Regions from separate parts of the Homo sapiens genome. Here regions 2, 3 and 4 are each linked to region 1. The links are contacts of gene promoters, found by promoter capture Hi-C in human tissues and cell types (Jung and others, 2019). All regions are on one chromosome and are shown on one strand. Each heading gives the region's core, a stretch centred on a gene start or on the middle of the fragment in contact. The rest is flanking DNA. Distances are from core to core; before and after follow the strand shown.

Region 1 (7,793 bases), core at 3,748-6,247:
ATGCACAGATTGCAAAAAAAAAAAAAAAAAAAAAAAAAAAAGCCTAGGTCTCATTTAAAACATATCCTTTCCAATCTGTGTGACCTTGGACAAGTTACTTAACCTCTCTGAGTCTAGTTTCCTTATCACTGAAACGGGCCTACCTGGCAGGGGGTTGTGGATGAAAACGTGTTCCACGTGCTGTGGATTTCTTCATCCATGTAAGGGTCTGTCCCTGTGTGCCCAGAACATCTGGGCCTAGGGTGGCAAGAGTCTCCTGAATTCCACCAACACTGAGTCCCAGCTACAAGCAAGGGCCTGCTGGAGGCTGAGGAGTAGGATACAAGACAAACGCTGCACAGCCCAAGCCCTGCAGATCCCATCAGTGCAGAAACCCCCCAACCCTACCACCCCTCCCGAGGCCTGATCCTCTCTCTCTCGCAGCTCCCTGCTTTGCCCATACCACACACCTGGCCTCCTGCTCCCGCTCTGCTTCCCCTCAGGTTCTGCCCACGGTCTCCCTACCCACTCCTGGCTATAGATTCAACTCAGTGGTGACCTGGACGGCCCTCTTCCAGCTCACAGCAGGGAGGCGACAATTTGACCTTCTGTTAATTTTGCTGGCAGATGGAAGGACAAAGTTCTGGGATGGGGACACTTGAGCAAAGACCTGGGGGTAAGGAAGTTGTTAATTTTCAAATCAGGGCTAGATTGTAGCCTCGTCTCACCTATCTGAGCTTCCCAGGAAATCCCTGGGACAGGTGTCATTGCTGAGTCAGGATGGGCACAAGTTAGGGGAGGAATATAGAAGGAGTTGAGGTCAGAAAAGTCAACATTCAAGGTGATCACCTCCATTACCCACCTCTCCTTGGTGAGGAAACTGAGGCCCAGAGAGGCAACTTGAATACCTAAGGTCACACAGCAGATGGTGGCAAAGCCAGGCGGGACCCTCAGCCCCTTGGGTTTTGTTTCTCAGGCATTTGTCTTGTACTTCTGCTCCTAGAAATGCTTAGCACAGGGACCGGGGTTCATTTTGAGACAGAGGGAGAAGATTAAAAATAAAACGCGTGCCGGGTGTGCCTTTCTGCTCGTTCACTTTGCTTCTTTTCAGCTAAAAGAAGAGTCTCGGGCCTGGCTATTTATAACTAACCCAGATCTGCGATGGCTTGCTCAAGTGGGGGTGGGGCACACAGACCCCAGGGAAACAATCGGGGAAATCCACCCAACTGGGCGGCAGCCTGAGCGTCCGCTGGGGGTGGGGGGTGGTTGCAGAAGAGGTAGGACAGGTGGGGCACAGAGAATCAGCCAGATGGGGTGGCACCAGAGCAGGCCAGGCTCTGGGCCATCCATGGTTTAGAGACAAGCAACATATGCCCACCCCACCCCCGGGAAGTGGGAAAACTAGTGGAATAGTCAGCTGGGGACAGGTCACTACAGAACAGGTTGACATGTGTGTAGACCAGGAATTCCAGGGTCCTAGGGGCTCTGGAGGTGCACAAAGGGAGGCCCCGGGGAAGCTGGTTCTCATGGATGTGGAGGAGAGCCCAGAACAGCAGGGCTCAAATGTATGTGTTTGTGGGGAGTCCCCGATCTGGCCTGGCTGATATGTAGGGGCTAGGATGGGTTCAGTGGTTGATGAGCCAAAGAGATCCAATGGGATTGAGGGGTCACGGATGTCCATGGTGTGGAGCCCCAGTGGTGGAGTCTGGGTCATTTTCTTTGTGGTGGGGCAGGGCGGGTGCTGACACCATGTTGAGGGGCCACTCCTCAGCCAGCTGTGCCTGCTGGGTTGGGGAGGTGCTGAGTGGGCTCAGTCACCACCATGGCCCCCTTCCTCTGGCTACAGCAAAGCCCCAGCTGTTGTCTCCCAGCCAATGAGGGCTCAGGACAGAGCACCAGCACCCAGGTTCTGGTCGCAGCCACACCCTTTCCTGTTAGGGGACTGCACATCCACACATGGCATCTGGGGCCCACCTTGCCGCAGGTGACCCACCTGTCCAGCTTTAGCCTTGCATGGCCCTGTGCCCTGAACTCCTGGCCCACTGGGCCTGCCTTTGCTCCAAGGGGTGCTTCTCTGTCCTCAGCTTTCTCGGCTTCCAGGTAGCTGGGAGCATGGTTAACAGCTTCTTCCTTTACCACATGCTCTCTTCCCGTGCCTCTGGTACCCTCCATTCTCTGGTTCCTGACCACCTCCCCAACTGCTCCTCCATCTTTTTGGTAAGCACCATCTCTTCCTCCAGTGGTCCCCACCCTCTCCCCTTCTCTCATCTCCCTGGGTCCTGATAATGCCCCGCCACTGTCTCCTAACATGCTCTTGGTCTCCCTGCCATCTCACAGCCACAGCAGACCGTACACTGAACTCAGCCTCACAGACTGACTTCTGTGCTCACTCCCACTTCCTCTGGACTGACTAACTGATGTTTTTGTTATTTTATTATGTCCAGTAGGACAACTCACATTGTCTGTGGGACCACGCCTACTGTAAACAGGCAATTAAAAACTTCTCCTCCTCCTTCTCAAATTTAAAAGACTAATGTTAAAACTCTCGAGCAGTTCTTAGGCCAACGTCCCTGATCCTACTGCCCCAAGCTGGCATCTGTGCATGGGCAACGACCCTGGCCCCAGCCACACTGGTCTTCTCTGGGTTCTTCCTGGCCTCGTGCTCCTTCATGTCCTGCACCGTCCCCGCCTTGGAACTCACTTCCCTCCCACCCTATGTCACTGGCCACCTCCACGCCTGCTATGGCCTCATTCCAAGCATCTCTTCCTTTGGGAAGCTGGCCCAATGCCCAATGCTCCCCCACTCCACATGCCCCCAGAGCCCCAGTGGGTCTCCTCAGATAGCCTCACATGACTGTAAGGCCCAATCGTTGTTTGCTTTCTGCCCCTGCCCTACAGGCAGAGGGTCTGCCAGAAAAGGGCCGGTCTGAATCCTAGAACTGTGCCTACAACTATACCCTGGTGGAGGAGGCTATCTGTAAGTGACTGCTGCATGAATACAATATTGGTTTGATGCCAGGTGAGATGTCCCTCTCTTACTTTGAGGTCAAGTCAGGGAGGTGTCAGCCAGCCCCAGTGGACCCCTCCGCAGGCTAGCCTCTGCTCTGGACCACTGGAAAGGGCCATCTCACTGTTGCATGTGGGCTTACCTCTGCAAACAATTCAACTCTGACCCCCAGACTCTGCAGTGGAAACAGCCTCTGGCTATCCCAAGACATGCTAATATGCATTTCCTATAAACATTAACCCTCAGAGCCACCCTCTGACCACAGTCTGTTACATTCCCTTTTGACAGAAGAGGAAACAGAGGCTCAGCCAGGTAGCACAGCTGCCGGTCTCTGTGTGGTCCTCCTGGCAAGAGGTCCAGCCTGACACAGCCTGGTGGTGTGGAAGGCAAGCACAAAGGGTAGCTAGCCCCTCAGCCATTGGCTGAATTCCCTTGGTCCTCACTGGACACCTCCAGTGAGCACTAAGTTCGCCTCCATGATGCCCATAACAAATATACGTCCTGTTCCTGACAGTTGAGGCAGCACCCTCACAGGTGGCCCATGACCCTGCAGGTACGTAACGCAATGGTCTCCATCTCACAGAAGAGGAAACATTCCTAGGGAGGTTATGGGATGATGCTGAGATGCCACAGTGTCCAGCTGGCAAAGCCAGGCACATGCCCCTGCCCCTCCACCACAGAGCTATGATGGAGAGACCGCTCCATGGACCTCTGCCATGGTCAGGTCCAGGGCTGCTGCTCAAAGAATGGCATGATCCACACCTTACAAAGGTGTGAGGTGATAAGGAACGCGTTAGCTGGGAAGGCATTTGCACTTTGTCAGGGATGCTCTAGGATACACAAAGCTTCAGATTTACAAAGATGGAGAAGAGAGACAGGAGCATTCATGTCTTGGCCCTCTGGCTTGAGAGTCTTTTAAGCATGGAACTGAGGGACTCCTGGCCCTGAGGTCCACAGATAGGCTTTGAAATTGAAAACAGAATTTTGCAGCCTGGGTTCAGCTGCGTTTTGCTGAGGGTCTGATGCTTTCCACCAGCTTCCCAAAAGCGCCAATCAGTGGCCTTAACTGAACTGGCTCTCTCACGCTTGTCTGGGCTGGGGGCCAGCTCCTCGGTCCTTCTCCCTTCCTTCCCTCCCAAGGCCACCCTTCCGTGTGCCAGGATTGCCAGGGACGCCAAAGAGCCCCTAGACACTGGGCGGTGGCGGCGGGGGGCGGCGGCAGAGATGACTAATGCTCCCTCCCATCGCTGCACAAACCTCACCGGTGTAAATCGTTAGGGTTTGCATAGGCCTTTCACACGTTCTGAAGGATTGGTGAGACAATCCAGGAAAGCAGGTGCCACTAGCCCCACTTTGCAAACAGAAAGGCTGAGAGAGGTCAGTCGGTTGCCCAAGGACGTAGAGCTCACAAGAGGCCGAACTGGGTTTGAACCCGAGTGGAGAGAAGGCGAGCCGGGACTGGCTGCAGTAAAGAGGGCCAGGACCATGGCTGGGCTCAGGCTTGGTTTCCCGGGCTGCCAGAGGTGGCCCCTGGGGCTCGGCTACCAGGCCTCAGCGCAGCGGAGTCGGTGGAACGCCGGCGCGGGGAGCTCTTGCGGGACTGCGGCGCGCGCGGAGCTGCGACCCCGCCCCTGTCCGTCCCCATTGGGCTACTGGCCCGTCCGTCAGCTGCCTGTGCCCAATGGACAGAGGGCCGGCGCTCGTGGCGGGGCGGAGGTGCCCGGCGCGTGGTGCCCGGCGGGCGCGCGGCACCCCCCCGCCCGCGGTTGGCCTGGCAACGGGCTGCGCTCGCGGCTCCGCCCCCTGCCGGCGGCGGCGCGGCGCGGGGCGGGCGGACCCGCGGACTGGCGGCGGGCGGCGGGCGGCGGGCGGCGCGGGAGGGCGGGCGGAGGGAACCAGGCCGGCCGGAGCGTGTGCGCCGCCCGCGGTCCGGTCACGTCCCCGCGTGGGCGCCGCTGCCCGCGTCGTACGGAACGAGGGCGCCGCGGCCCCGTGCTCGCCGCCCCGCCCCGCCCCGCCCTGCCCGGAGCAGCTCGGCAGATGCTCTGTGCTGCGGCCCGGAGGTGAGTGAGCCGACCCGCGGCCGGCCGCGCGCCGCTGAGCCTCAGGGGTCGGGGGCACGGCCGGGGCATCCACCTTGCCCCCACTTGGGACTCTTCCCAGGCCTTTGTGCCCCGGATCCGCCAGGACGCAGCGTCAGGGATGCCCCTCAGGGGTGGGGGACACCAAGGGCGGGGACGCCTGCGAGGTGGGCAGGGGGCGGCCTCTGGTCGGGCAGGTGCTGGGGGAGGGATGCGCCGCCAAGCCGATGACCCCGCGGGAGGGGGCGGTTGAGGACCCGGGAGGGTGGACAGAGGGCGCCGGGGATGCCGCGCGGGGCCGCCGGGCGCCCCCAAGCAGCGGCTGATGCGGAGCCCGGGCGGGCCAGGCGAGCTGCGGGAGCGGCGCTGAGGCGGGTCTCCCTAGGGGGAGGATCAGGGAGGGGCGGCCGGAGCCGATGCAGGGCCTTGCCTGAAACCGAGGAGAGGGCCCCAGAGGCCTGGGCCCGAGGACCTGGGCCCGCAGACGGACAGCTAGCAGTTCTCGGTCACTGCTCTTGCAGCGAGCAGGTTCCTCACAGGCATTTAGAGGAAGAGATGAGTATCGACCTGCTGCGATTGTAATACGTTCCCGGCTCAATATTTTTTCCCTTAAAAGGCGGTGGGGGTGTTTGGGGGAGGGGAGTGAGGGCCTCAGGGCTGGCGCTCCGTATCCTGCGGGCGATCCGAGGGGGCTCTGCCTTTAGGGCGGTGCTGAGCCTTCCTGGGTGATGATGGCAGGATTCGGCCTAGGCCGAGAATGGGGGCTCCTGTTAACTGAGACAAGAGGATGATGCCAAGCGAGACCAGCGTTCCGCGTAGTCCGTGTTGGGGTGGAGGGACCCGCCTGGTAGAGAGGTCTGTCTTGCTTGGGGAGACAGCTGAGCCCCTGACCGGCTCCTTTCTGCCCAAGTGATTTCCCTGCCCTGGGGATTGAGCTCTCTGGAGAAGGCTCCTTGGCCAAATTCAATTAAGCAAATATTTATTGAGTGGTCACTCCCCCAGAGCTTGACGCTGGGGTGCACCGGGTGGGAGTGGACTGGGCCTGCCCTCCCAGGACTGATTGACCACCGCATAGGGGAAAACGTCTCTACTCGACCAACCCCGCTTGAGTGCAGGTGCAGGGGCCTCGGGAGGGACCTCAGAGTGGTGTCCTGGGCTGGGGGGTCAGGTGAGCTCGTGGGCAACATGACATTTGAACTGGAGCTTGAAGGACATGGGCACAGCTAAGCTGGGCATTGTGGGCAGAGAGGAGAGAATAGACCGAGGCACTTGGGCAGTTAGGTCTGATGGGAGCACTTAGCATGCCTGGGGAGTAGGAGGAGGTATGGCGGGAAAGGCCGGTGGGGGCTGCACGGGGCTGAGGGAGCTGGGAAGTGGAATGACCCCACTGCTGGTTAACTGTGGCTATGGTGGAGACCACGGCTTCCTCATCTGTAAAAGCGAAGCAGTTCCATGACCCCATGAGCTGGGGTGGGCCTGGAGAAGAGCTAGCTTTAAAGACTGGGGAAGGCTCCTTGCAGTCTGAGACTGTGCTTCCAGGCACTTCTCCCTCGGGCACAGCCAGGGCACTGGGTAACCACCCAGGCAACCCCCTTGTTAGGATTGAGTTGCCTGTTTCGGGGATGATGCTTAGCTAGTGACTCTGTGCCTCTGGGATGTGGATGTTTGAGAGCAGTAATCGTGGCAGCCTGGGAGCATCCATCTACGGGGTGCAGTGGGGGTGTGGATGGCCTGGCGGTGCTTGGATAAAATATGCGCCTTGAGCAAGCCTCATTCTCTAGGAATGAGGAGATGCTGGCATCTGGTTTAAAAGTCTTCCTGTGTGTTCCTCTAACTGACGTTGATTTTCTGAGACAGGAGGTGAATAAGACATAATTTCTCCCCCTCGGAAATTGGTGTCACTTTCCCCCCTAAGTCAGCTCCCTCATTTCTGGGGATGTTTTTGCTCTCCCTCTGAAGGGGCTGTTTGTTACTCATCTTTGTAGTGTGCCTACCCTCCCCACCCAACACACACTTGGCTTTGGCCAAGGCCCAGGTTGATGCAGCGAGAACAGGGCCTGCCCTCGTGGGGTGTGCAGTCTGTGCTGAGCAGGGTGAGCTGCTGTGCTCTGTGCCTGTCGCCTGGACTGTTGCAGGGACCTGGCATGTGACTGTGGGTTTGGGACACAGGGAATGGATTCTTCCCTCTGTCCCCAGCCTCTCAGTCCTTTTGTTTTCTAGAATCTCAGGAGGAACCTCAGAGACCTGGAGGCCCCACCAGAGTGGCCAGAACCTGGTGCAGGAGTATGGGTGGGGTCTCAGTCTGGCCCTCAGGAGCTTCTAGAACAATTCCAGGAATTTGCAGGTAACTGGATTGACTTCACAAGGGCTGCCCAGGGCCCCCGCAGAGAGGCCAGTGGGACAGGAATGCTGAATATAGCAATTCAGGAATGCTGAATTTAGTCATCTTGTGTGTGAACACATGTGTGCGGCTTCCTCCCCTGGAGGCAAGGAAGGCAGCCCTGTGCTGTCTGTCCCACGCTAGCCTCAGAATACTTAAGACGGTGTGTGGTGGCAAAGGCACTCTCACTGCTGCTGACCATGGCAGGTGCACGGGCACACTGGAGGAGGCAGGTCAGCATGCTGCTCTCCCGAACCCTCCAGCAAGGAAACCTGGGGTAGCCAAGCCTCTGAGCACCTGTGAGCACTGTGCTTGGCTGGAAGGAGCACAAAGCGAAATGAACAGA
Region 2 (7,793 bases), core at 3,679-6,178, 510 kb before region 1:
GTAATTCGTTGAAGGATGTTTTCCATTTTGGTTCTCTCTCTGGAGACTTTCTCCTACTTTTCACCCTCAACACCTAATGGCCTTTGTGAAAACCGGGTTAAACTACAATTTGTTCTACATTTCCTTTAATTCCCAGGCAATCATCTTCACTCATCAGCTGCGGGAGACTGAGATTAGTAATAAAGGTCATTGTCAATGTCCCTAATTATCAAGCAGCTACTGGGCACAGCAAAGGCCGCAGCAGCTCTCATTCATTACCTCAAATAGCCTTCACAGAGAATCTAAAGTTCACTGTCATTTTCATTTTTAGTCTTGTAAGTCCCTGACTCTGTCTGGGGAAGAACCTGCTCAGCTCCAAGCAAGCAGGAATTGGTAGCCCTTATGTGAGGAGTTTAGAAAGAGTTTCATTTCCCTCCCTATCAAACAATCTAAGTGTTAGAAAGGGCTGATAAGCTTCACATAAACCATGGAAAAACAGGAAAACTGAGTAAGTCCAACAGTTAGGGAAGCTTCCATGGGATCCCCGCTTCCAGGAGATCCAAGGGAGGAGGAGGAACCGCGATCAAGTGTGAGTTGTGTAATCTCTGAGCTGTGCAATCTCCCTGTGAGGCAGTGACACTCCTCTGTCCAGCTTCACACTGCCAGTTTGTCCAGTGGCACTGGAGGAAGCAGCACCAGGGGCACATTTGCACAAAGGTGCTGTCCTTCCTCCCAGTATAAGGGAGAAGTGAAAAGACTGGGGCCCAGCATGACTCCTAGGGTCCAGACATGAATTGGGGAGATATTTCTGCATGTCCTGTCTACTGGTTCTTATGGTCCTTGTGGGCTGCACAGGCCAGAGTGGCCTCTGAGCTCATCAGGTGGGTGGTCTGCACCCTCCTCTCTAGTCATAGAATCCCAGTGGGGACCCCCGAAGTATCTGCACCAGGTCCTTCAGGTGTTTTTTTTGGAGTGCAGTGGCGCAATCTTGGCTCACTGCAACCTCTGCCTCCTGGGTTCAAACGATTCTCCTGCCTCAGCCTCCCAAGTAGCTAGGATTACAAGCACACGCCCCCACACACGGCTATATTTTTGTATTTTTAGTAGAGATGGGGTTTCACCATGTTGGCCAGGCTGGTCTCAAACTCCTGACCTCAAGTGATCTGCCTGTCTAGGCCTCCCAAAGTGTTGAGATTACAAGAGTGAGCCACCATGCCCAGCCTCTTTTTCTTTTTTAGAGACAGGGTCTTACTATGTTTCCCAGACTGGTCTTGAACTCCTGGGCTCAAGTGATCCACCCATTTCAGCCTCCCAAAGTGCTGGGATTACAGGCTTGTGGATACCAACAGCACCCGAGCACGGTCCCACAGTCCAACGCACTGTGCCGTCCTTGAGCCTTTAGTTCCAGCACAAGTCTCCCGGCTTCAACCCAGGTTGCATGTTCTCCCTGATCTCCCCAGGTGGCACCCAAGGATGAGGCAGTGCAATCTTGTTGCTCACTTCCCAGGACCGACACTTACCCCTAATGGCCCAAGCCCATGGGGCAGTGAGATCAAAGCCTCCTGGAGCTCATACTCTCTGACACCACTGGAAGTGTGGGCTTTTGCGTCTGATTACCCCGGGGAAAGGTTCTGAATGTAATCGTGGCTTTGGCAATAAGGTCCACAATGCATTAAGATTTTTTTTTTTTTTTTGGAGGAGGAGTTTCACTCTTGTTGCCCAGGCTAGAGTGCACTGGCACCATCTTGGCTCACTGCAACCTCCACCTCCTGGGTTCAAGCGATTCTCCTGCTCCTGTCTCAGCCTCCCAAGTAGCTGGGACTACAGATGTGGGCCACCACGCCCAGCTAATTTTTTTTCTATTTTTAGTAAAGACAGGATTTCACCATTTTGGCCAGGCTAGTCTCGAACTCCTGACCTCAGGTGATCTGCCCACCTCGGCCTCCCATGGTACTGGGATTGGGATTACATGCATGAGCCACCATGCCTGGCCTAGGGTTAATTTTTATTTTTGGAGACGGAGTCTCGCTCTGTCGCCAGGCTGGAGTGCAGTGGCATGATCTTGGCTTACTGCAACCTTCGCCTCCTGGGTTCAAGCGATTCTCCTGCCTCAGCCACTTGAGTAGCTGGGACTACAGGTGCATGCCACCACGCCCGGCTAACTTTCTGTACTTTTAGTAGACGCGGGGTTTCACAGTGTTAGCCAGGAATGGTCTCAATCTCCTGACCTGGTGATCCGCCCGCCTCAGCCTCCCAAAGTGCTGGGATTACAGGCATGAGCCACCGTGCCCGACCCTAGGGTTGACTCTCATACAAAGACAGCACGGGAAGTGAAATGCTCTTTTGTGGAAATGACCAGAAACAATAAAAGCGGCTCCTGCCTCTTCGTCTACTGTGAGGGACCTCAGGATGCAGCTCCCATCTGGCTCGAGTGACAAGGACAGAGGGGAACAGGGCTTCTCTGAGCACCTCAGACAGCTCAGGGGACCTTCTTACCCACAAACGCCTTCGTTCCATTTTGAAGCGACTTAGGCTGGCCTCAGGACCTCCAACGCTTGGATTTCTAGGTCTCAGTCACTTGTTGCCACGCACGTCTGAGAGTAATAATCAAAATGCTCCAAAAAGAAGAATACATGTATAATATTTACGAAGCAACGGCCTCCTGTGAAAACCTCCGCAAATACTGCTGAGGAAACTGACAACTGGCGACTCAATCCCGCCCTTTCAGTGCAAATCTCTGGCTCCAAACCTGAGCACCAGTGTTTCCTGGGCTGAACCAGGGGGCAGGAGGAACAACAGACCATGTGGTTGGTCACAAGTGACCCCTGTGGTCAAGGACCCTGACTACGGTCTTGCAGCGACATTTCTGCCTCTGCTCCCGCCTTCCTAGGACGCCTACGCCACTGCCTGGGCCGTCCCCAACCCCCAGCACCTTCAGAGGGGCCGAGTCCCAGAGCATCCACCGCATTACAAATGCGCACCCACCCTGGAGAGCTCCAACCACGAGCACCGCCGCCTCGGTTCAAGGCATCCTTACAGCCACAACTCCTCAACTGGGGCCAATTTTCCGGGGCAGGCGGCCCGGGGTGACCCAAGTGGCGCACATTATTTTCTTTGGTCTTCAACCCATTTCCAGAGAGAAAACAGGGACCCGGGACAGGGGTGGTGCTGGGGGCACAAGCCCAAGGTCACCCTGCGGGGAAGCGGAGGAATCAGGGCTCGAACTTACGTTTTTCCTCAGAGAGTTCACCACACCGCGAAGTTGCTGGAAGGAAAGAACGAGACAATGGCTCAGCTAAGCGCCCTAGCCGCTGCGTGGGGCGGGGGGGGCGGCGGTGGGGACCGGGGGGCTGGGCAGCCTGGTCTGACCAATCCCCGTTTCTCAGTCCTTCCAGGGCAAAATCTCACGAGATCCAGTGAGGTCGCCCAGAGAGTCGAGAGGGGCTTGTTTTCAAAGACTGGGAGGAGGAGGGGCAGTGGGGGAGGGGCAGTGGGGGGAGGAGCAGAGGAGAAGGGAGCAGGAGGAGGGGAAAAGGGGAGAGGAAGTTGGAGAGCAGAGGAGGCTGGGGGTGGGGAGGAGATGGGGGTGGGGAAGGAGGGGAGATGGGGGTGGGGAAGGGGGGGCGGGAGGAGGGTTAGGAATGGGGGAAGGAAGACAGGGTGGGGGAGGGGTGGGCATGGGGGAAGGAAGACAGGGTGGGGGAGGGGTGGGCATGGGGAAAGGGAGACAGGGTGGGGGAGGGGTGGGCATGGGGGAAGGGAGACAGGGTGGGGGAGGGGTGGGCATGCGGGAAGGGAGACAGGGTGGGGAACCGAGAAGAAAGACAGTGGGGGGGGATGGAGGAAGGAACACAGGGTGGGGTGGGGGGTCGGGATGGGGGAAGGGAAACAAAGAGTGGTGGAGGCGTGGGGATTAGGAACGGAGACAGAGGGTGGGGGAGGGGTGGGGTGGGGGAAGGGAGACAGGGTGGGGGAGGGGTGAGGATGGCGGAAGGTAGACAAGGCGGGGGAGGGGTGGGGATGGGGGAAGGGAGACAGAAGGGGGGGAGGGGTGGGGATGGGGGAAGGGAGACAGAAGGCGGGCCAGGGCGGGAATGGGGGAAGGGAAACAGGGTGGGGGTGGGGATGAGAGAAGACAGAGGTTGGGGGAGGGGTGGGGATGTGTAAGAAAAACAAAGGGTTGGGGAGGGGGAGGGAAAAGAGGCAGAGAGTGGGGGAGGGGGTGGGGATGTGGAAAGAAAGTCAGAAGGTGGGGGGTGAGGGGTGGGGATGGGTGAATACGTGATGGCTGCGGCCTTTCCCACCAGACAGTAGGGTGGGGGCAGGGTGGAAAAAGGGGGTGCGGTGGGCGAATGGAGAGGCAGTGGGGAGGCGGGGGGCTGACTGGGAGTGTGGGACGGGGTGTTCTGGGATCACGGAGACGTCCAAGTCTGGACTCTGTCCTGGGTCTGTGCTTCTGGCGACCTCCCTTTTCTTCAGTGGGATGCGGGGTGCAGGGGCCGGTTCCAGGGTCCCCTGAGCTCAAGTTCTCGCCCCACCCCGCCCCGCAAGTCTAGAAAAGATGCCCCTGGCCTTGGCTGGGTAATCTCTGGATTTACCTACTTCTGTAACCCCCCGGGCTGAAGAGACCACCCCCCGGGATTCAATTAACTTACTCTCTGGAGCGCGCGTTCCTCCCTGCTCCCGGGAGTCGGTTTCCCAGAACTTTCTGAGGCCCGCGCATGCTCCCCTCGACTCCCCGTGTTTCCACTCTCCACAGAAATCCACGCATTCACGCCCCTCCCCTCCCCCGAGCCTGCAGAGGACTCCGCCCTGCTTTCCCTACATTCAGGGCTGCTCCTTTTGTCGCCAATACAGACCTGTTGACAGGTCACGCCTGGGAAGCGGGTGGGGTGTCCCGGAGCGGTGCTGAGGCGCTGCAGGCCCGGCTTCTGGCTGCGGGGGAGCTGTACCCTGAAGCCTCGCCGGAACTCGCGTCTGGGGCCAGCAGGGGGCACTAGAGTCAACAGGGACTGTATGCAAAACCCACTTCCTCCCAGGCCCTCTAGGGGGATGGTCAGGCTTCTGCAGAGATGGGGAGGATCCTTTCCTGGTAAGGGGAGAGGGACGGGCTAGGAGCCAAGCGGAAGGACCCCGTGTTCAAGGCCCTTCAAGGGACGGGACAGGCGAGGAATCTCTTTGAGTCTTTTGAATTGTTTTATCAGTCAGGCCTGGGAAGTACTCCGCCTCCACAAACTCTGTTTTCCTGAAAGGGGTCGGGGGGGGGGACCCCAACATCTCCTGCCACAGGCTATGATGGGCATGGTGGCTAAGAGCAACAGGCCGCGTGGTGAGGCTGGCTTTTTGTGGCTCTGCCCTGCCATTCCCCGAGGCATCCCCATGCCAGTGAACAGAGCTGCGGGTTCCCAGCTGCACAGATGAATGCACGAACAAAACATAGGTCCATGCAAAGGAAGTCATTGCATTGATCCAGATTCGACCTGGGATTGTCGCATAAAACAGGGCTGATAAAAACCGTTGTGTTTTCACCTTCGAAACAGAGACTCAGCCTCCCCCTCTCTGCTTGAGGCATTCAGCAAAGGTTCGTCCTTGAGTGGCTGTGGATGCTCAAGGACTTACGATTTCTGACTTTATAAAGTTTAGGGTGAAAACAAAAAACAAAATAAGAAGACCATTGTTTTAAAGTGGCCGTTGTAGCTAATTATCTCAAGAAAGCAAACAGGCTGGTACTGAAAGTTACACAGGCGGGCGGCTCCCTGGGAGGGTTGCCCAGCTCTCCTTTTCTGAGACCTGAGCAGGGAGCAGCCAGAGGAGCTTGAAGGGATGGTGTTCAGGGCATGGGAACAGGCTGCACACATCTTCACGGAGTACGGTGCTTGTCCAGTTTGAGAAGGGAAAGAAACTGGGGCAGAGGGCTGATGAGAAGGCAGCAGATGGATAGTGCGGGATTGAAAAGGGGATCCATTTGAAGACTGGCCACCATTATTTATTTTCATCATCTGATTGCTGTTGCTCCATTGAGATCGATGCGTGGAGAACAAGTTGGGGAGTGGAACAAATGGCAGGGAGGGGAGAGAAGTGAGTGAACATGACCCTGGTCCAGCCTCATAGGACAGAGCGTGGTCATGAAGTCCACAGAGGAGGACAGGTAGGGAGGAATCATGGCATGGCCAGGTTGTAGGGCAAGAGGCAGAGAGGAGAGAGGATTGTGGAGGATGCCTGCGGAGTGCCGACTGTCAGTCGAGGCTGGTCCTTTATTTATTTATTTTTTTTTTTGAGACGGAGTCTCGCTCTTGCCCAGGCTGGAGTGCAGTGGCGCGATCTCGGCTCACTGCAAGCTCCGCCTCCCGGGTTCATGCCATTCTCTCGCCTCAGCCTCCCAAGTAGCTGGGACTACAGGTGCCCGCTACCATGCCTGGCTAATTTTTTTGTTTTTAATAGAGACAGGGTTTCACCGTGTTAGCCAGGATGGTCTTGATCTCCTGACCTCATGATCCGCCCACCTCGGCCTCCCAAAGTGCTGGGATTGCAGGCATCAGCCACTGTGCCTGGCCAAGGCTGGTCCTTTCTTTTATGGCGATGGGTGTTTGAAAGTTGCACATACCAAAATAAACTCACTATTTGTTGACCCAAAGTAAAACCCTGAGGGTATGAAAGGGAAGGGCTCATGCTTACATGGCTGAGATAAAAGCTGTCTCAGGAAGCTGGGTGTGGTGGCTCACCCCTGTAATCCCAGCACTTTGGGAGGCCAAGGTTGGAGGATCCCCTGAGGCCAGGAATTGAAGACTAGCCTGAGTGATATAGCAAGACCCCATCTATATTTTTAAAAAGGGTTGGCTGTCTCGGGACTTTTCGAAATAGCCCTGCAAGACATTCCTGTTTTGGAATCACAACAATTTAGATAAGATGCTTTTGAAAGAACACCTGCCTAGGCACAGCGTCTCCACCAATGAACTGATGCCAACTGTGGTTTTGAGTCTTCATAACCGGTGAACTGTTTGCAAGCAGCTTATTTAAATCTCTTTTTTTGCCAATACAACCTTCCCTTTGCCCTCCCCTCTTGAGATGCATATATGGCTTGCCATAGCTGAGCATCTTAGGTTATAATGCTTTTTCTCTTTTTTAATTTTTTTTTGTAAATTTATATTTATTTTTATATTTATTTATTTTTTGAGACAGGGTCTTGCTTTGTCACCCAGGCTGGAGTGTAGTGCATAATCGTAGTTCACCACTGCCTCCAACTCTCGGGCTCAAGCAGTCCTCCCACCTCAGCCTCCTGAGTAGCTAAGACAACAGGCATGCACCACCATGCCCAGCTAATTTATGTATTTACTTTATTAAAAATTTTTTTTTTTTGGTAGAGAGAGTCTCACTGTGTTTCCCAGGCTGGGCTTGAACTCCAGGCCTCAAGTGTTGCTCCCAACTCGACTTCCCAAAGTGCTGGGATTACAGGCATGAGCCACCATGCCCAGCGTATAATTTTGTATTCTAATTCCTGAATAAATTCAACAAATTTGGAGGTGTTTTTTGTCTGATGGTTCCTTTTGGTCGACAACTGGAATGGGAGAGGAACAGTGTGAGGGCAAACATCAAGTGCTTTGCTGAGCTCCGGGTGCTTTTTTTGGATAAGACACAGAAAATACAATAAGATGTCTGTAATGTTTGATTTTTTTCCAGGTTTCTTGAGGTATAATTGACAAATAAAAATTGTATGGATTCAAGGTGTACAATTCATATACATTGATCCACATATACCTTGTTTGATGATTAATCAAATTAGTTAACACATCTTTCACCCCAGCAGTCAATGTGTG
Region 3 (7,793 bases), core at 2,745-5,244, 350 kb after region 1:
CTTCAATTCTATGAAGGCTGAGAGAGGTGAGGAAGCTACAGAACTGTTTGAAGCTAGCAGAGGAGGTTGGCTCATGAGATGAAGGAAGGAAGCCATCTCCCTAACAGAAAAATGCAAGATGAAGCAGCAAGTGCTGAGGTAGAAGCTGCAGTAATTACCCAAAAGATCTAGCTGAGTTCACTGATGAAGGTGGTGACACTGAACAACAGATTTTCAATGTAGACAAAACAGCCTTTTATTGGAGGAAGATGCAATCTAGGACTTTCCTAGCTAGAGAAGGAAAGTCAATGCCTGGCTTCAAAGCTTCAAAGGACAGGCTGATTCTCTTGTTAGGGGTGAATGCAGCTGGTAACTTTAAATGGAAGCCAATTCTTATCCATCATTCCCAAAACTCTAGGGCCCTTAAGAATTGTGCCAGATCCACTCTGCCTGTGCTCTATAAATAATCAACAAAGCCTGGATGACAGCATATCTGTTTACAGCATGGTTTACTGTAAGCCCTCTCTGAGACCCACTGCTCAGAGAAAAGGATACCTTTCAAAAGATTACTGCTCACTGACAATGCACCTGGTCACCCAAGAGCTCTGCTGGAGATGTACAAGGAGACAAGTGTTGTTTTCATACCTGCTAACACAACATCCATTCTGCAGCCTGTGGAACAAAGACTTTCAAGCCTTGTTATTTAAAAAATACATTTCATAATGCTGTAGCTGCAATACATGGTGATTCCTCTGATGGATCTGGGCAAAGTAAATTGAAAACCTTCTCAAAATGATTCACCATTCTAGATGCCATTAAGAACATCTGTGATCAAATAGGATGAGGTCAAACTAGCCACATTAACAGGCATTTGGAAGAAGTGGATTCCAACCCTCATGGATGACTTTGAGGGGTTCGGGACTTAGTGGAGAAAGTCACTGCAGATGTGGGGGAAATAGCAAGAGAATTAGAATTAGAAGTGGAGCCTGGAGATGGAATTGAATTGCTGTGATTTCATGATCAAACTTGAACAGATGAGGAGTTGCTTCTTAGGGGTGAGCAAAGAAAGTGGTTTCCTGAGATAGAATCTACTCCTGGGGAAGATGCTGTGAACATTGTTGAAATGACAACAGAGGATTTAGAATAGTGCATACACTTAGTTAATAAAGCCGCACCAGGATCTGAGAGTACTGACTTCAATTTTGAAAGGAGTTCTCCTGTAGGTAAAATGCTATCAAACAGCATTACAAAGCTACAGATCAATCTTTTGTGAGAGTCAATCGATGTGGCAAACTTCATTATTGTCTTATTTTGAGAAACTGCCACAGCAACCCCCCCCACAACAACCCTTCAGCAACCGCCATCCTCATCAGCCAGCAGCCAATCAGCTTCACGGCATGACTCCACCAGCAAAAAGATCAAAAAGATTATGTAGGGGTCTCTAAAGGCTCAGATAATCCTTAGCATTTTTTAGCAAAGTTTTTTCTGTATCACAAGTCATTAAGCAAACCAATATTCTTGTTTTTTTTTTTTTTTTCTTTTTTTGAGACAGGATCTTGTGCTGTCACTCAAGCTGGAGTGCAGCGGCACAAACATGGTTCACTGCAGCGTCGACGTCTCAGGCTCAAGCGATCCTCCCATCTTATCTTCCCTAGTAGCTGGGTCTATGGACATGTACCACCACACCCAGCTAATTTTATTTCTTTTTGTGGACCACATTGCCAAGGCGGGTCTCGAACTCCTGAGCTCAAGACATCCACCTGCCCTGGCCTCCCTAAGTGCTGGCATTACAGGCATGAGCCACAACACCCCGCCCAAGAGAGTATTTTTAAATTAAGGAATGTGCATGGTTTTTAGACATAATGCTATTGCACACTTAATAGATTACACTGTAGTGTAAACATAACATGTATATGCACTGGGAAACAAAAACATTGTGTAACTGAGTTTACTTCCATATTTGCTTTGATTGTGGGAGTCTGGAACTGAACCCGCAATATCTCCCAGGAATGCCTGTCTTTTCTCCTGGTCTGTACTTTTTCATTTCATCCTCTTAAGCTAAGTGTTTCATGGAGCCTAGGTTTTAAATGTTGATGAATTCTGATGTATCCATATTTGTATGGGTCATGCTTTTGGTGTCAAGTCTCAAATCTCTACCTAGTTGTAGGGCTCCATTTTTTCTCTTGGAATTTCTCCCCTAAAGTTTTATAGTTTTATGTTTAACATGCAAGTGACCCATTTTCAGTTAATGTTTGTATGAGCGAGGTGAAGTGCATTTCATTGAACAGTTTGTCATCAACATTTACCTTATTTTAAAAAACCCACAAATTCATGGTATTTCATTGTTTGGATGCACTGGGACTTATTGAACTAGGCCCCTCTCAATGCCTATGGTTTCTTCTTCCTTTTTTGTTATTATAGTAAGTAATGCAACATCCATTTTGTTGTTTTGTGTGTGTGTTTTTGTGGAGATGGAGTCTCAGTATGTTGCCTAAAACTCCTGGCCTCAAGCGATCCTTCTGCCTCCTCCTAAAGCACTAGGGTTACAGGTGGGAGCCACCACACTTGCCTGAGAACGATATTCTCATCACAAATATATTTGCACAAATGCGCCCCCACACCTGTTTGTTGTCATTCGACTCGGTCATGCAGTAGGCAAAGATAAATTGTTTGAACTTTATGTGGTCAGGCTATTTCTTTGATGGCTTCTGGGCTTTGTTTTATGATTTAGAAAGACCTGCATTCTTTGGAGTGGAGGAATTAAATGGAATTAAAAGTGTCACATCCATGTTTCTGCAACGCCTTTTGTGGTCTGTTTTCCAGATCTACCACCGCTCGGAGCCCTGGAGCTGCTGGCGCAGCCCAAGGAGGTCCTGGAGGGGCACCCCGGCCTCCGCGCCCCTGGGAAAGGTCCCCACCCCTCTGGAGCTTGGGCCCTGCTGGTACAGACCGGGAGTCCCGAGGGGAGTCGGTCCCCTTCCTGGCAGCCGTCCCTGGTGAGGAACGGAAGTCGCAGGGACTGCATGTAAAAATGTCCCAAGTACCCCTTCTCCTGCTGGGTTGCACCGTGCCTGGCGGTGGCCGCTGGGAACTCCAAGGCTGACACCCGCTATGGGTGCTGGACGCCCTCCGTCGCCCCGGGCCGAGAACACCACCTGAGGTGGATCTCTTGTTCTCGTAGCTGGGACCACAGGCGAAGCCACCGCGCCGGCCTCTGCACCCATTTCTTGTGCAGTCCTCTGACCCCGTGAGGTGGTCAGGGAGGATGGCCCGGGCCTCCTGGTCCTGGTTAGCACAGCAGGGCACTGCCAGGCTGGCTCACTGTCCATGGCAGGAGGGTGCAAGATGCAAGGCGGCAGACGGGTGGCCCGTAGGTGGGAGGGGGAAGGCCCGTGGGCAGGGACTGGTCTGTGTAGCCCGGCTGGCTGTGCTCCACCTGCTCCAGCCACAGCCTGGAGCACCTGGGCCCAGGTTCCTCCCCAACGCAGGCAGCCTCGCCAAGGCCTCTGTGGACGTGCCCTCCCCACTGAACGCACAAGGTATCCTCTGCTCTCCCAAGTGAAGCGGGGTCAGGCCAGGATAGGAGGTGGACGGAAGAGCGCTTGGAAATACGGGGCCCTGTAGGCATCTTACTGCTCTTGACAGCCAGACCCTCTCTCTCCTCTTGCAGTAGGACTCGGCCCAGCACTCTCCAAATGCAGCCAGCCCCTCCGCCCCAGCCCAGCACCATCCCTCCCACTCCCCCGGACTGTATGCAAACACACTGGCACACAGCAGCTTCGGCCTCTTCAGCCAGCTGACCCAGAGAAGACCCGTCCACAGCACTGACCCACACCTCACTACTCCCTGACACCGTCCCAGACCACACCCTCCTCCAACCCAGTCACTCACTTGGTGAGCAAAGATGGCCTGCTTTGCCCCAGGTCCTGCTCAAAACGCTTAGGAATCCATCAGAGAACAAAACAAACAGGGTTTCTGACTTCATGAAGCTTCCATTTTTGTGGAAGAAGACGGACAACAGAAGCTGTATTTATTAAACACTTACATAACATAGCACTGACTCCATGGCAGGTGTTATGCTACGCATTTTATAAATACAAATTCATTTGATCCTCATGAAAATTCTGAGTTAGGTATTGTTCATATAAATAAGGAAACCAAGGCAAAGGGGTTAAACAATCCACCCAAAGCCACACGAGTAGCAAGTGGTGAAGCCACAACTCAACCCCAGGCAGCCTGGCTCCAGAGCCCAGGCCCTCCACCTCTCAGTAAGCATGAGTGAGCAACACAGCATGCTAGAGGGTGAGTGCCCCGGAAAAATGGAGAGTAAAGCAGAGTAAAGGGAATCCGGAGCACGGAGGGAAGGAGACACACTGACATTTTAAACTGGGAGGCATGAGGATTCCCAGAGGAGCTGACATCTGAGCAAAGGCATGCAATGCAAGGGTTGAGGGAGTCTGCATGCAATATTGCAGGAAAGAGTGTTTCAGGGAGGGGGAGTCTGTCCCACAGTCCTGAGGCAGGGTGTGCCTGGAGCATGGGAGGAAGGTCCGGCCAGGGAGGGGACAGCCCCTGCCTTTTGTGCAGCAGAATGCCCGAGCGTGCTGCGTGCCCAATTCCCTGCCTCCCTGGTGGGCCGTGCTGCTCTTTCAGTACTCACCTTGACTTCCAAAGTGAACAGTGAACTTAGAGAACAGAGCCCATGACCTCTACTCCCTCTGCTTGTCCCTGGTACTTTCAAGCTGATGTTTGCTGGATCTGTCTGCCTTGCCTTGTGGATTCCACAAAACTACAAGGTCCAGGAGGATGAGCAGGTCCTGCCAGGGAAGCTTCTGACACCTCTGTCACTGGTCCTCCTACACTAGTGGTGAGCAGTAGCCTCTGCCTGGGGCGGGGAAGCAGCAGTAAGTAAAGGGCACTTGTATTCTGTATTTTCAAAGCATGCCTGCCCAATTCTATATTCAAATTTTATTCCCAGTAGGACCCTTTAAACTGGCAGGCAGCCAATTCCACCCTACTTGACAAATGGCAAAACCACCCACCTCGGCCTCTCAAAGTGCTGGGATTACAGGCGTGAGCACCGTGCCCAGCCTCAAGAATGACTCTCAAGAGGTGAGTAAAGACCGGGCTGGGCGTGGTGGCTCATGCCTGTAATCCCAGCACTTTGAGAGGCCAAGGTAGGCAGATCACCTGAGGTCAGGAGTTCAAGACCAGCCTGGCCAAGATGGTGAAATTCTGTCTCTACTAAAAATACAAAAATTAGCCAGACATGGTGGCACACGCCTGTAGTCCCAGCTACTGGGGAGGCTAAGGCAAGAGAATTGCTTGAACCTGGGAGGCAGAGGTTGCAGTGAGACAAGATGGTGCCACTGCACTCAAACCTGGGCAACAGAGCGAGACTCTGTCTCAAAAAAAAAAAAAAAGAAAGAAAGAAAAGAAAAAGAAAAAAGAAAAAAAAAAGGTAAGTAATGACCGAACAGTACAGGGTCCCAATCCCATCTAAGTAGGCTTAAGGCAAAGACTGAGCATTTACTTAAGTCACAGAGAATTTAGCTAAACGCAGTGAGTCACCCACTTCACACAGAGAAAAATGCATCCCTCTACTCCTGTCTCATCACACGCAGAATGCCCAGATTTCTTTCCCATAGTTCCCCTTGAACTATGCAGGCTACTCATAAGGAATTAAGAAATATGCATCAGACACTTCCCTATTTCTAGTTTCAGTCTTCAAAGTAGCCAAAAGAAAATGCCTTTTTGTCCTACATCAGAAATGGTAGGACACCTCTTTCCTCCCATTTATTTCCAAAGTAGATTACACCAATTTAATTCCATTTTATTTTCCAGAATAAGCATACAAAAAAATCCATCCTGGAAGAACCATTTTCAACTGGGCGTGGTGGCTCACATCTGTAATTTCAATGCTTTGGGAGGCTGAGGCAGGAGAATCATTGAGACTAGGAGTTCGAGGCCAGCCTGGGCAACACAGAGAGACCCCATCTCTACTAAAAATAAAAGAAAAATTGGCCAGGCATAGGGGGGCAGCCACGGAGTCCAAACAGCTCCGCAGAATCTAAAACATTTACCTTCTGGCCTTTTACAGAAAAAAGTTTGCTGACTCCTCCCCAGCTGATCTTGCTTGACTCAGTTCTCCCACCTCCACAAGATTAACTGACCTAAAACTCGACTTCCACCGTCCCTCTGTGTTCAAACCCCCGACAGGTTCCCTGATGCCCATAAAGCCCACACTGTACCCTGACATCCATTCGACCAGGAGAATAAACAAGAAAAGCCCTCAAGGACATGCCTTTGCTCATGCTGTTCTCTGCCTGTCAGGAAGCCCTTCCTGCCTTCCACCGCTAAGCCTGCCGCTGCTTACCTTGCCCTTGCAGTCAGGGCAAGGCTCTGGGAATGCTCCCGGCTCCCTCTGCTCTGCTCCCACAGCTCCCTATACTTACCCTCATCACAGCTCTTACCACACAGCACTGAAATCATCTATTTGTGCGTCTGTCTCGCCAGCTGCAGCAAGATCCCAGAGGGCAAGGAACACATCTTACTTATCTCCCATCACCCATACAGAACCCAGTACAACAGCTCATCAACACTGAACGCAACCCCAGCCTGGCCAGGCTGGCCTCCTTGCTGCCCCTGAATACATGCTGCTCACGCTCAACTCTGAGCCTGCGCTCACCCCAGCACCCCCACATCTCACTTAAGACAATCCGACCATGGCCTGGGCACAGTTCAAATTGCATTTCCTCCCTAGGCCCACAGAAGTCAATAGGGTCGCAGGTTCAAACCCCCAGCTCCTCTCACCCATGTGCCGAGTGCCCTTGCACAAGATGCTTCTGTCTCTGGGTTCTCATCGTAAAGAGGGAATGACTCAGTATCCCCTAACTTGCAGGGCTGACAACGCATATAAAGCTTCTGAACCGACACTTGGCATATAATAGATTTTTAAGAACAGCACACTTGTTTTCCCCAATCACACTGTCTATGCCATCTGGGTGTTTCATCCCTTTTCTTCCCCGTAACTGTTGTGTATATTACCCTGGCTCTCCTGAGGCAGGTTTGTCATGAGCAGAGACACGGTCGTAGTATACTTCCATGAAGCCGCCCCTGCCCTAAAACCCAGGACAACACAACACGTGGAGGAAGGGACCAAAGGATACAACTTTAATAAATAAGTTATTTCAGGTTATTTAGGTTTAAAGAATTGCTAATAAAAAAAAATGCAAAGCCCCAGGGGATCAGGAGTGAGCTAGAGAGCAGGCTTTTGCAGATGTTTTCATACTGATGACAAAGGCAGTTAGAGAGCGGGAGCAAGTGGGTTGAGGAGGGGACCAGCAAGATAGGAAAGAACTCCCCCTTGGAGGTGGTACTGTTCATTCTCACCCATCCAAACACTGCAAAGAAACCTGTGCTGACTCACTGGACAGTCTGGACCCAGCATCCTCCCCTGAAGACTGTCTCTGGATGACAGGAAGCCCCAAGCCTCAGAATTCCATTCCAAGTTTCATGAGCACTAGTCAGTGACAGTACCAGCTGATGTGTGGGGTGCTCACTGGGTGCTTACCACATGCCTGGGAAGATTCTAAATGCTTACGACCATACAAGGTTAGGAGGACTGTTACGCCCTTCATTGCACAGATGAGGAAACTGAGTCTCGGGGGGGATAAGGAACACACTCCCGGTCACACACTCTAGTAACCGGTATAGTACAGCACAGTCTGGTTCCAGAGTCCAAGCTCTTAACCACAACGCAGTTTGAGTGTCTTACTCTGATTTAGCTCCGCCATTTACCAGGTGAGAGATCT
Region 4 (7,793 bases), core at 3,446-5,945, 270 kb before region 1:
CCCTGTTCAACTCTCCCAGTTGGCCTGTGCAGAAGACAGATGGATCTTGGAGAGTGACAATGGATTATCATAAGCTTAACCAAATGGTGACTTCAATTGCAGCTGCTGTACCAGATGTGGTTTCATTGCTCAATCAAATTAACACATCTCCTGGTAGCTGGTATGCAGCCATTGACTTGGCAAATGCCTTTTTCTCCATTCCGGTCCATTAGGCCCACCAGAAGCAATTTGCCTTCAACTGGCAAAGCCAGCAATATACCTTTACTGTCCTACCTCAGAGATTTATCAACTCTCCAGCTTTGTGTCATAATCTTGTTTTTTTTTTCTTTTGAGACAGAGTCTCGCTCTGTCACCAGGCTGGAGTGCAGTGGTGCAATCTCAGCTCACTGCAACCTCTGCCTCCTGGATTCAAGCAATTCTCCTGCCTCAACCTCCTCAGTAGCTGGGGCTACACGCGCGCACCACCACGCCCAGCTAATTTTTGTAATTTTAGTAGAGACGGGGTTTCACCATGTTGGCCAGGATGGTCCCAATCTCTTGACCTCGTGATCTGAACGCTTCTGCCTCCCAAAGTGCTGGGATTACAGACCTGAGCCACCATGCCCAGCCCTTTGTGTCATAATCTTATTCAAAGAGATCTTGATCACTTTTCACTTCTGCAAGATAGCACACTCGTCCATTACATTGATGACATTATTGGATTGGATTCAGTGAGCAAGAATTCACAAACACAATGGACTTATCGGTGAGACATTTGCATGCCAGAGAATTTGAAATAAATCTGACTAAAATTCAGGGACCTTCTACCTCAGTAAAATTTCTACGGGCCAAGTGGTGTGGGGCCTGTTGAGATATTCCTTCTAAGGTAAAGGATACGTTCCTGCATTTGGCTCCTCCTACAACCAAGAAAGAGGCGCAACGCCTAGTGGGCCTATTTGGATTTTGGAAGCAACACATTCCTCATTTGGTTGTGTTACTCTGGCCCATTTATTGAATGACCCTAAAGGCTGCCAGTTTTGAGTGGGTTCCAGAAGAAGAGAAAGCTCTACAACAGGTCCAGGCTGCTGTGCAAGCTGCTCTGCCACTTGGGCCATATAACCCAGCAGATCCAATGGTGCTTGAGGTGTCAGTGGCAGATAGCAATGCTGTTTGGAGCCTTTGGCAAGCTCCCATAGGTGAATCACAGTGCGGTCCTCCAGGATTTTGGAGCAAGGCCCTGCCATCCTCTACAGATAACTACTCTGCTTTTGAGAGACAGCTGTTGGCCTGTTACTGGGCTTTGGTGGTAACTGAACATTGACTATGAGTCATAAAGTCACCATGGGACCTGAACTGCCTGTCATGAACTGGGTTCTTTCTGATCAATGTAGCCATAAAATGGGTCATGCACAGCAGCATTCCATCATCAAATGGAAGTGGTATATACATCATCAGGCTCGAGTAGGCCCTGAAGGCACAAGAAAATTACATGAAGAAGTGGCTCAAATGCCCATGGTCTCCACTCTTCCCCCCTGCTTTCTCTCCCCCAGCCTGCACCGATGGCCTCATGGGGAGTTCCCTATGATCAGCTGACAGAGGAAGAGAAGACTAGGGCCTGGATCACAGATGGTTCTGCAAGATATGCAGGCACCACCTGAAAGTGGACAGCTGTAGCACTAAAGCCCCTTTCTAGAACATCCCTGAAGAACAGCGGGGAAGGGAAATCTTCTCCGTGGACAGAACTTTGAGCCGTGCCACTGGGTGTGCACTTTGCATGGAAGGATTTTAGCCAACTACATTCTAAAGGTTATTGCCACAACTTTGATCTTAAATAACAGTGCAGCGAACATCCCTGCATCCCTGCATGGAAGGAATGCCATTTCCCATAAATCACCAAATCACTCAGAATGACTACGCATAAGCCCTTAATATACGCCAGATGCATTGGTTATTGTTTTACAAGCGGGACCTCAAGAAGACTTTCATAATACGGAATAGGATGATGCAAAGCCCTATGCTCAAGGCCCGATCTTTACTAGAAAACTAGTATTGGGAGGTTACATGTTTTCCCCAAACAGATCTTTGAGGAATCCCGCAGATGCCAAAGACCTGCTGGCCTAAGAGTAGACACTTATTTTCTCACAGTTCTGAAGCTGGAGAGCCAAGATAAAGGTGTTTATAGGTTTGGTTTCCCCTGAGGCCTCTCTCCTTGGCTTGCAGGTTGCTGCCTCCTTGCTGTGTCCTCACATGGTCTTTCCTCTGCACACTCATTTCTGGTGTCTCACTTCTGCGAATGCAAATTTTTATTAGCCTGGGTTAATAATTTTTATATCAGCCTGGCAGATTCTATCACTGATTTACTTGATTATCCTATTTACTTGATTATTAAACTCCTTCTCTGCTGAGGTCACCCATTGGTGAGCACTCGCATGGGATACAAATATCTTCACAGTTTTTGATCACTCAGAGGGATCCATCCACATAGCTCTTCCCCAAATTTCTTTGTCATCAATTTTCCAATCATGCTTCTTCCAAGTCCCTGATCATCCAACCAAACCATTGGCTACAGCCTATGAATCAGTATAAAATTGCATATCTGGACATTTCTCCTTCCAGGCAGTGCTGAGAAAAGTGGACATCCACATGCAGAACAATGAAACTGGACCCATCTCTCTCCAAATAAAAAATCAGCCCAACAAGGATTACAAACCTAAGGATAAGACCTGAAGCTATAAAACAACTAGAAGGGAACATAGATAAAATTCTTCAGGACCTTGGGATACACAAAAATTTTTATGACTAAGACTTCAAAAGAACAGACAACAAAAATAAAAATAGACAAATGGGAGTTTATTCAACTAAAATGCTTCTGCAAAGCAAACAACAGATTGAAGACACCCTTAGAATGGGAGAAAGTATTCATGTGAATAGGTCCTAATATCCTGTTCATCTGAAAAGGCATAATATCCAGTGTAAGAATAGAGGACAAGGCTCTAAAATAACTGATTAGCATTAAAAAAAAAAAAAGTGGGCAAAGGACCTGAATAGACTTTTCTCTAAAGAAGACATACAAATGGCAAACAGGTATGTGAAAAAATGCTTAAGGTGACTAATAATCAGGGAAATGCTAACTAAAACCCAAATGAGATATCATCTCACCGCTGCTGGAATGACTATCATCAAAACATAACAAGGCTAGGCGCGGTGGCTCACGCCTGTAATCCCAGCAGTTTGGGAGGCCGAGGCGGGCGGATCAAGTGGTCAGGAGATCGAGACCATCCTGGCTAACATGGTGAAACCCCATCTCTACTAAAAATACAAAAAATTAGCTGGGCATGGTGGTGGGCACCTGTAGTCCCAGCTACTTGGGAGGCTGAGGCAGAAGAATGGCATGAACCCGGGAGGTGGAGCTTGCAGTGAGCCAAGATCGCACCACTGCACTCCAGCCTGGGCGACAGAGCGAGACTCCGTCTCAAGAAAAAACCTAACAAACACCCGTGACGATGAAGAGAAAATAGAAGAAAAAATCACATGACTGTCTCAACAGTCAGATCAAATGTTTTCTTTCAAGGAAACATTTTTGTTGGTTGTTTTTTCTAGTCTTGTTAGAGCATCACGCATGATAAGATTTGTGGTACAGAAGTTAGAGGGGATGTTGTTCCATGCAAAATATCTGAATATCCCATACCCAACTCTTCGGTTACTTACTGATAAATGCTAAAAGGTTACAATTTTGTATTTTCAAATATTCTGGTGGCCAGAAACCTCTTCCTTGACAAGTCTGGAGTACAGGTATCTGACTCCAGATGATTAGAATTTAGGCAGGTATTGTGTGAGCAGTGAGGTCACACACAGGAAACGTTCCAGTCAAAGAGAAAAACAGACGGAGGCTGAAACACAGAGATCATATGTCTGAGAAATAAGGAAATTCCATACTAATGGGAGCTGAGTGAGAACAAGATATGAACCATCTATTTCTCTCTGAATATCTCATTGGGATCTTGTCCCTTTCCCAGCATACCACTCATGTGGATTTTAAAATTGTCTGCTCTTAAAACATTTCTTGCACATCATTAGAGAGTCCAGCACTGGAATCAAGCTCAGTTTGATGAGACCAGGGCAGTTAAGCACCAAACCCAGGTGTTCTTAGAAGGGCTTGTAGAAGACAAAGGTGTGTTGTCAAAAGCAGAGAAAGTGAGACTTTCCATTGTGGTTTAAACCACAGCTTCTGGAATTTCATTGGGCACACAAATCCCCTGAGGATTCTGGTTAAGATACAGCTGTGCCCTCAGCACATCTGGGTATGGCCCCAGATTCTCCATGTCTAGCAGCTTCCAGGTGAGGCTGATGCTGCTGGTCCTCCAAGGACATTTTGAGTGGCTTAGCTCCTATTCACCCTCCTCACGCAGGCACAGGTAAGACTCACCTAATGAAGAAACCTGAGAAGCACAGGTGAACTCTCCCTCCCCTCCTGGTGTCTTAGTACCTTTTGTGTTGCTATAAAGGAATACCTGAAGCTGGATAGTTTGTAAAGAAAAAAAAGGGTTTATTGGGGTCATGCTTCTGATGGCTGGAAAGATCAAGATTGGGTATCTGCGTCTAGTGAGGGCCTCAGGCTGTCTCCACTCATGATAGAAGGTGAAGGGAAGCCGGTCTGTGCAGAGATCACTGGGAGAGAGAAAGCAAGCTTTTTTTCCTAACAAAGCTGCAGGGATGTAATTGAGTCATATTCATAAAGTGCTCAATACAGGGCGTAACATATTCAAGTGCTCCTTAGTGGACAGCAATTATTACTGACCTTGCTCATGAAAATTAGACCTCAGATGGAGGAAAGGCAGTGCCGAGGGTTTTAGATTGTTCGAAATAAGAGAGATTAAAATGATTTAAAATAGAGGCCCAGGAGCTGAGGCAAGCATCCCCAGGTGTTCTCCTGCCAACTCCCCCCCATGTCTCAGAAGCTGTTTTCAGGCAAGTCAGCCAGGGAGGAAAGTGGGGGAGTTTGTAGAACCAAGGATTGCAACTTCATCCATGAGGAGGAGGTGTAGCCAGCCAGGTGGGGAGAGGCTGCTAAGCTCATCTGAAGGCTGTTGAAGGCTTTCTGGCCCCATGGTCCTGGGCCATCCCTCCCTGCCCAGGGCCGCATTCCTCAGCTGACAGCCACAACCTTGAGAGAGGCCTGTGAGTCTGATCAGAAATCCTGCCAGGGCCCCGAGGGGGCAGGCATGGAAGGGAGGTGTCTAAGGTCACAGGAGACACTATTTGCTGCCTGTGGGGCTGGGACAGGCTCCTTGAGAGGAAATTCGGGCACTGTACGGGAGGAAAACACAGGACAGGGAGGCCTCTCCCCAAAGGATTGTGATGATAGAGACCAAAGCATCTGCAAAGAGCCCAGCCCTACAGGGGATTCTCTGAACACAGCATTCCTCGGGGCGTCTGTGTTATTTTGCCAGGGTTACCATAATAAAGTAGCACAGACTGGATGCTCAGAGAAAAGAAATGTCTTCTCCACTAATCTGTAGGTGATGTTAGAATCTGAGATCAAGGTGTTGGCAGGGTTGGTTTCTTCTGAGGCTGAGCGAGGGCCTGTTCTGTGCATCTCCCTGGCTTCAGGTGCTTCTGGAAGGATGTGCTGTTCCCTGAATTACAGACAAACACCCCAATCTCTGCCTCCATGTTCATATGGCATTTTCCCTATGTGTGTCTCTGACCATGTTTCCTCGGTTTTTTGTTTGTTTGTTTTTTGCTGTTGTTGTTTTGTTTTGAGATCGAATCTCGCTCTGTCGCCCAGGCTGGAGTGCAGTGGCATGACCTTGGCTCACTGCAACCTCTGCCTCCCAGGTTCAAGTGATTCTCCTGCCTCAGCCTCCCAAGTAGCTGGGATTACAGATGCCTGCCACCACCTTCAGCTAATTTTCATATTTTTAGTAAAGATGGGGTTTCATCAGGTTGGCCAGGTTGGTCTCGAATTCCTGACCTCAGGTGATCCACCTGCCTCAGCCTCCCAAAGTGCTGGGATTACAAGCCTGAGCCACTGCATTCAGCCATTTCCCCCTTTTATAACAACACCGCTCCTGTTGGATTGGGAGCCCACTCTACTTCAGTATGATGTCATGTTAACCCATTACATCTGTAACCACCCCATTCCCATATAAGATCCCATTTTGAGGTTCTGGGGCTGAGGACTTCAATATCAATTCGGCGGGGGGGAGCCTACAATGTAAATTTGTAACATTGTCTCTGTCATGGGCCAGCTGTCAATATTCCCTGAATATCCAGGATCCACCCATGCTCTCTGGCCATCACCAGAGTGAGCAAATCCCTGACACATGGATAAGAGTTGCTTCCATGGGCTCCCAGCCAGGCTGGAAATTCTTGATTCATGGAATCAAGAATCTTTCTCCAGTGGGTGGGGCTAAATGCAGCTGCCTCCCTGACAGTCTCCCTGGGACACTAGGCTTATCAGCTTTTCTCCTAAAGCTGCAGGTCCTGACTGTCCTGAGCCCCAGCTCTGCTGTGGTCTTTGCATCTTAAGATCTTATTCAACTCGCTTTTGTGCCTCAGTGGACTGACTTACAGGAAAACAGTGGGAGATGCCCCTGCTCTCTCTCCCCAGGGTCTCCTCCCCTCAGTGGCACAAGACCTGCCCTATTGACTGGCAGTCCCCCCATGCCCATCTCAACCTCCACACTGCCCACTGTGCACGGTCACAGGTCACAAACTGATTGTTCACTTTGGGCAGATCACCTTGACAGTTTCTGCAGAACTGGGTGCTTCTTCCCAGAATCAGGAATTTACAAACAAGGCCAGTTCTAGAGATGCAACTGGGAGAGTAATGTGCATCACAGCGAATCTGGACAAGACAAAGTGGTTTTGCTGTAGTTCTCCTGGAACACATTCTGGTGATGTGTCCATCTCCCAGGATAGTCTTAGCAAGTTACATCCAATGCTGCATCAGGACCCACAAGAAAAGGAACTGGCCTGCATGAGTGGCCGGCAGGGTCCTGGGAGGAGACCCTGAGATGCCCAGTGACAGGAGGAGTGGATTCTTAGGTTGGTAAGCGTGTGGAGGAACTGCGAGTGATGTGCTCAGCCAGGTACAGGAGCAGGCGTATTGGTGACCTGTGGCCTCATCTTATCTCAGTTGTCTCTTTAGACCAAACTCCAGGAAATCAGCACATAGAGACTTCTGTCTGTCTCCGAGATCATCGCAGGACTTCACACGTCTTTTCTATTTATAATACAACATCATGTTGTGATTGAATTACTTTCATCACAGCCTCAACAGTCCTAGGTCTGAAAACTAATACATATACTTAGAATATTAATTAAGGAATACTTTCTTGTCAATTATGTTTATTAAATTAAAAGACTTCAGTATCTAGTGTTACAGCTGTCCTAATTCAACAGCCTTGACCTTCTTAGAAATAAAATCCTGATCCCAAATTTTTCTGGGGATATGACTGGCACAAGGAGCCAAGCAGACATCTGGATGTCCCAGTGTCACTGCTGACATGTGCTTTTTTGTTATCTGTCATGGGGTGAACAGAGGAAGTGTCCCTACCTCTGTCCACAGAACCCATCAAAGACAGTGCACCTGATTAAAGAAGAGAGGGTTGTGATCAGAGGGGTCCGGGGTCCTGGGATGAGGTGGGAGGAGGAGACTCATGGGAAGAAAGGAAGCAGGGCAGGAAGAAGCTGAAGTTCAGGCTCTGAGGTGCATCTCCTGCATGGAATCTTGACTCCACTCACTTCTGTCATTGTGTAATCTTTCAATGTTGGTTCTGTCATCAGTAAACTTGAGGAGAGGTTATGCC

The links. The method cuts DNA at HindIII sites, captures the fragments that hold promoters and counts their contacts. A contact is called where the count stands out against the background at its distance.
Region 2: the fragment with the promoter of PRAME here is called in contact with the fragment with the promoter of GNAZ in region 1 in 2 of the 25 tissues and cell types used here (H1 embryonic stem cells and lymphoblastoid cells).
Region 3: a fragment that was not itself captured here is called in contact with the fragment with the promoter of GNAZ in region 1 in 2 of the 25 tissues and cell types used here (IMR-90 fibroblasts and lymphoblastoid cells).
Region 4: a fragment that was not itself captured here is called in contact with the fragment with the promoter of GNAZ in region 1 in 1 of the 25 tissues and cell types used here (lymphoblastoid cells).

The regions. Positions count from the first base shown.
Region 1 is chr22:23,065,522-23,073,314 of GRCh38, forward strand. GNAZ (G protein subunit alpha z) reads left to right here and starts at 4,998. Exons shown (of 3, transcript NM_002073.4): 1 at 4,998-5,049. The region is part of intron 4 of RSPH14 (radial spoke head 14 homolog); the gene reads right to left. RefSeq lists silencers at 638-845, 4,673-4,812, 4,953-5,092 and enhancers at 5,699-6,579, 6,580-7,461. The HindIII fragment of the contact is 23,611 bases long and covers 1-7,793 here.
Region 2 is chr22:22,554,337-22,562,129 of GRCh38, forward strand. It overlaps PRAME (PRAME nuclear receptor transcriptional regulator), which reads right to left and starts at 4,929. Exons shown (of 6, transcript NM_206956.3): 1 at 4,635-4,929; 2 at 3,209-3,244; 3 at 2,476-2,573. The coding sequence starts at 2,496. LL22NC03-63E9.3 (a long non-coding RNA gene) reads left to right here and starts at 5,007. Exons shown (of 3, transcript NR_027426.2): 1 at 5,007-5,071. It also overlaps IGL. RefSeq lists a silencer at 1-25 and an enhancer at 4,846-5,140. The HindIII fragment of the contact is 17,569 bases long and covers 1-7,793 here.
Region 3 is chr22:23,411,908-23,419,700 of GRCh38, forward strand. No RefSeq gene overlaps it. Among named protein-coding and RNA genes, the nearest start is that of LINC01659, 18 kb to the right of the region's middle. RefSeq lists an enhancer at 4,433-5,067. The HindIII fragment of the contact is 3,719 bases long and covers 2,136-5,854 here.
Region 4 is chr22:22,794,587-22,802,379 of GRCh38, forward strand. It overlaps IGL. Among named protein-coding and RNA genes, the nearest start is that of MIR650, 24 kb to the right of the region's middle. The HindIII fragment of the contact is 4,650 bases long and covers 2,371-7,020 here.